Regions from separate parts of the Homo sapiens genome. Here region 2 is linked to region 1. Evidence: promoter capture Hi-C in 16 types of primary human blood cells and fetal thymus (Javierre and others, 2016). All regions are on one chromosome and are shown on one strand. Each heading gives the region's core, a stretch centred on a gene start or on the middle of the fragment in contact. The rest is flanking DNA. Distances are from core to core; before and after follow the strand shown.

Region 1 (2,700 bases), core at 161-2,660:
GTCCTTCTAAATTGGTGAGTTCTCAGTGGGAGTTGAGTGACCTTTTCCCTCAGTGTGACTATCACTGCCCAATGTCATTGATACATTATACAACTCCCCATCCCCACTTCCCCTCAGCTCCTGTTAACCACCATTCTTTCTGTCTCTATGAATTTGACTACTCTAGATTCCCCATGTAAATGGAATCATACAGTATTTGTCTTTTTGTGACTAGCTTATTTCACTTAACATAATACTCTCAAGGTTCATCCATTTTGTAGCATCTGCCAAAATTTCCTCCCTTTTAAGGCTGAACAGTATTCCATTGTACGTAGATACTGCATTTTGCTTTTCCATTCACACAAAGAGAGACACTTGGGTTGTTTCCGCCTCTTGGCTATTGTGTATAATGCTGCTACCAGCATGGGGTACAAATATGAGAAGTGAGGTTTAGGATCGTGTGAGGAGGATCACTTGTAGAGGGAAAATAGTGAAATAGGACGACCAGATAGGCTCTGTTGGAACTCGCGCCCATTGTTTTAAGACGCAGCTCAAATGTCACCTGGTTTTAGAAGTCTTCCTGGTCTCCGCAGGCAGTCAGTATCTCTTTCCTAAATCCACCACATTCCCGTAGACAGACACCACATTTATGCAAATCTCCTTCTCACAGACAGTGAGTTCCATGGGGGTCCCCTGGCAGCCTCCAGCCCTGTACCATGCTAACTCTTCCGGAGAGGAAATGGGGCCTCGGGAGAGCCTTTGAAGCCTGTGTTGGTACAGGCTGTCCTTCCAGCTAACGGGGCTCTCTGGGGAATGTATGTTTGACTTTCTATTCCCGGTAATATAAGTTCAAATGTTTGTGGATATTTGAAGCTCGGATGAAAGCGTTTCTATTCATGCCCCTAGAATCTGTGAGGCCTTTTCTTTCTTTTTTTTTTTTTAAACAAGAGCCCACAGCAAAACTTGGGTTACTTGGCTGAGGAAAGGAATGTAGAGCTAGGAGCAGGGTTTCATCTTCAGCCCCAGTCGGGCAAACCAGTGGCAGAAGGGAAAGCAGAGCCCAGGGGTCCCCATCCCGTACCTGGGGCGCAGGCCCCGCTGGGGTGGGAGGGAGAGTGGAGGGCCGGGCAGGCTGCAGCCGCGGATGGCTGCCCCCCCTGCCCCGGTGTTACTGGGAGGACGGAGGTTGCGACAGCAGCCGAGCCCACCCAGTTGCAGCCGGCTCGGGGCTTAGGGCAGGGGCGGGAGGTGACCACCGCGCCGCTGGCCGCCTCGCCCAGACATTCCGTTTCTGCCGCTGGAATGCGCGGACAAGGCTCCTTGTTGGCCTTGGGCGGGGTTCGCCGGGCCGGCCTGGCGCTCGAGGCCCCGGGGCGGGGCGGGGCCCGAGGCCGCGGGACCTTTAAATCCGAGCCTCGCGTGGGCTCCTGGCCCCCGACGGACACCACCAGGCCCACGGAGCCCACCATGCCGCGCCCGGCCCCCGCGCGCCGCCTCCCGGGACTCCTCCTGCTGCTCTGGCCGCTGCTGCTGCTGCCCTCCGCCGCCCCCGACCCCGTGGCCCGCCCGGGCTTCCGGAGGCTGGAGACCCGAGGTCCCGGGGGCAGCCCTGGACGCCGCCCCTCTCCTGCGGCTCCCGACGGCGCGCCCGCTTCCGGGACCAGCGAGCCTGGCCGCGCCCGCGGTGCAGGTACAGGCGGGCGGCGGGAGGGACGCGTGAGCATCGAACGAGGAGAAGCCCAGGGCATCCACCAAGCGCGCTTCATCCCGGCCTCAGGCCGACCGTGGTGCGGGGGAAAGAGGCCCCTCCCGGATGAATCCTGTGGGGGAAACTGAGGTCCAGAGAAGGGGAGGGAGATGCCCAATATCACTCATGTGTCCAGGCTAGAGATGTGGGTCTCCTGAAGCTCTCACTCCCCTGTGATTCGGCCAGGAGCACAGGGCAGCTGGGGAGCGCAGGGGCTGCTGCCCAGCGGCTGCTGCTAAGCTCCGTCCCAGTCCTGACCTCTCCATTCAGTGAGCAAACCCTTCCTGAGACTCTGCTGTTAGTTCTCTTGGAATCTCTCCATCTCCATCCAATATCAGGGCGTGATCTTTCCTCCCCTCCCACAGTCCTCAGGCTGCCTCAGACTGGAAGGTAAGGGATGCGGGTGTGAGACCAGGAGGAGATCCGAGGAGCCGTAGGATACCCCAGGATCAAGACACTCTGGGTCTTTGGCGAACAATTCTATTTCTCTTTTTGGTCAGCAATTGATTCCTGAAGCAGAGCAAAGCTCATAGTGCAGCGAAGCGGGCAGGTCGTCTGACACAGCCCCTGACAGCACATGAAGGGAAACTGAGGCATATCAAGTTGAAGGGACTCTGTGAATCAGTATCAGAGGCCACAATAAAATTCAGGGCTCCGAAATCCCAAGCAAGGTCTCTTTCCACTGCCCCAGCCTACCAACCTCTTAATATGGTTTACATAAGATTGTATCTTCATTTCCAAAAAGCGCAGCTTCAGTCTTGCTAAAAAGAGTCTGTGCCAGGCCATTTCTGGGTATGCAGTCTCATTTGGCCAGCCACGCTGCATGCCTCAGGCTGATTTCAATTGTCTATCCCCTTCTGCATCTTTCTGGATAAGCTGAGAAGGAGCTCAAGGGACTCTTTCCTGACTCAAATACTCAGTCCCCGTATTTGAAGTGGCAGATTTGAAATGGCAAAAGCATTGCTGCTAAGGCA
Region 2 (2,700 bases), core at 1-2,500, 98 kb before region 1:
TGAGAATAAAGCTTTTGGTATTGTACTTGCCATACAGTAAATCCTCCATAAATGGTGGCAGTTGTTAGCATTTCTGTAGTTCTGGATATTTTGGGTAGAGTCACCTGCCCAGGAGTTGGGGAAATGTCTGGATTTCATTACTGCACTGTACTGAGAGTTCACAGGGATGATTCACTAGGTAGAGGAACGCTCTGTAGATCAGAAGGGCCCACAGTGGGATGAGCTTCCGTAGGGTCAGGAGAGGCAGCCCAGAGGAAGTGAACTCACATCCGAGGGCAGCCACAGTAGCCCCCAACTCAAGGGCCTAAGCCCTGCCCCCGCCTTGAGCCCTCTGCTCACTTGTAGCCTCACTCCACAGCCCCAGTGAGAAGAATGCACGCCTGAGAGTGTCAGCATCACAGACGTGGTGCAGGAGGGCTCTGCTCTGTGGCTTTTGTGGAAGGTCAGCCCTGCCCCTGACTGCACAGGCAAGGTGGGCCCAGAATGGCATCAGGTTGGCCTGCATGGGAGGGTCTTGATACCAGGTTGAGGAGGCTGTACTTTCTGCAGCAGGACAGGAGCTGGAGGTGACAGAAGCAGAAGAAGCTAGCAGAGGGCTTGCTCGGGGAGCCAGGGAGAGATGGATGGGACCAGCTACACAGGAGGACTTCCCACCATCCCAGGGCCCGTGCTCCACATCTTCAGAGCCACCCTTTAGCAGGGCTTGCTAGGCTGGGCCAGCACTGTATTGAGGCTAGCACAGAGCATCAGCCTGCCTCGAGGCTGGGCCTAGGCCCCCTGGGAGCCAGGCCCCGGCACACTTGTGCTGTCTGGCAGGAAAACTCTCAACTGTTTTAACTGGATTTCCAGAGCTCTCAGGCTTGGGATGGGGACCTCAGGGAGAGAGGCTGGGGGAAGAACCAGGACATTTCCTGGGGCTTCGGCTGACTCAGGAGCTTCAAAAGCAAAATTGCTTCCAGTTTTTGTTTGCATAAAAGAAGCCGGTGGGAGGAGGAAGTAAGATCTGTCTGCTTGTGGACAAGGTCAAAGACCTGTAAGATTTCCAGGGGATGGAACCCCTTCTCAGGTGACCAGGCATTCCCACTATATGCCCTGGCGGCTTTGCTGGTCACAGCATGGCGGCAAATTACATGTTATTAGAGCAGTCCGGATAATGAAGTCACTGCAGACCTAATCCTATTTATTTCAATGACAGCTTTGGCAGAGCAGTAAATCTTGCTGCCAACCGTGTCTCTTGTGGCCAGTTCCCTGAAGGAACTACCATCAGATATGACTACAGGGAGGGGTCCTTGTTAGAGCCTACATTCGCTATTCGTCACCTTTTTCCTCCAAATGGCAAGTTCTCCCAGGAGAGCCTGCCCATGTGGCAGATTGTACTTTCAAAGTATATCTCATCTCACATGCTCTCCCTGACACTCTTCCCATTGAGTCCAGGAGAGGTATATGTCGCCTCTCCTTGTACCTTAGTGGAAGAAACTTTATGACTACCTTGATGAGTAGAAGTCATTGCAAAAGAGACACTATGTGACTTCCACAGCTAGGTCAGAAAAATGCCATGCACTTCTACCCAGTGATCTTGTATCCCTTGCTCTTGGAATCCAGCCACCATGCTGTGAGGAAGCCCAAGCCACACAGAGAGGCCACGGGCAGCTGTTCTGGCTGATGATTCCCCATTAGGGGAATCAGCACCAGCCACCAGACATGTGAATGAGGAGACTGTCCATATGCCTCCAACCCCAGACTGCAACTTCATGAAAGACCCTGCGTGAGAAGCACTCAGCTGAGGCCTGCCAGCCCCCAGAGCTGTGAGAGGTAATAAAATGATTATAGTTGTTTTAAGCCACTGTGATTTGGGGTGATTGGTTACATAGCAATAGATCACCAGAATACCCATGAACAGTGATAATGGACAGCCCTTGCCTCTCAGGCATCTCTTATTGAAAAATGGAAGTCCAATCCTTCCTTCCGAACTTGCCTTCTCAGGTTCTGAAACTTCCGACTATCAAGTGATTCAATCTCTCAAAGTGAGATTTGAAAGTGGGACTTCCAGGCCGGGCGCAGTGGCTCATGCCTGTAATCCTAGCACTTTGGGAGGCCGAGGCGGGCGGATCACAAGGTCAGGAGTGACCAATATGGTCACTCCTGAACCAGCCTGACCAATATGGTGAAAACCCGTCTCTACCAAAAATACAAAAATTAGCTGGGCATGGTGGCTTACATCTGTAGTCCCAGCTACTCTGGAGGCGGAGGCAGGAGAATCGCTTGAACCCAGGAGGCAGAGCTTGCAGTGAGCCGAGATTGCGCCACTGCACTCCAGCCTGGGTGACAAAGTGAGACTCTGTCTCAAAAAAAAAAAAAAAAAAAAAGTGGGACTTCCAGTTGTCAGAAGCTGTCAGAACACTCTCCTACTCACTTTCTTAAGGAAGTTAATCTCTTTAACATTTTTACTAAGAAAGGCAGTTATGATGCAAATTATTATGGAAAGCTTATGACTCAAACACCAGGTAGACCCAGGTACCATTCCTGATTCTGCCAGTTTCTGGCACTCTTTCCTGAGATGAGTCACTTTGCTTCTCTGTGCTTCAGGAGTCTCAGCTACAAAATGGGAAAACTCACACTGATCTTCTAGGATGCTATGATAATTAGAGATTTTTTACAAACAGTATTATTCTTAAAAAAAAAAGGGAGGGGATTTGATAC

What was found. The method cuts DNA at HindIII sites, captures the fragments that hold promoters and counts their contacts. A CHiCAGO score of 5 or more calls a contact.
Region 2: a fragment that was not itself captured here is called in contact with the fragment with the promoter of MATN3 in region 1 in 6 of 17 cell types (monocytes, M0 macrophages, total B cells and 3 more); the score reaches 6.3 in monocytes.

Annotation. Positions count from the first base shown.
Region 1 is chr2:20,011,378-20,014,077 of GRCh38, reverse strand. MATN3 (matrilin 3) reads left to right here and starts at 1,410. Exons shown (of 8, transcript NM_002381.5): 1 at 1,410-1,669. The coding sequence starts at 1,447. RefSeq lists an enhancer at 1,694-2,306. The HindIII fragment of the contact is 3,809 bases long and covers 1-2,700 here.
Region 2 is chr2:20,109,515-20,112,214 of GRCh38, reverse strand. The region is part of intron 2 of LAPTM4A-DT (LAPTM4A divergent transcript); the gene reads right to left. Among named protein-coding and RNA genes, the nearest start is that of LAPTM4A-DT, 59 kb to the right of the region's middle. The HindIII fragment of the contact is 2,474 bases long and covers 14-2,487 here.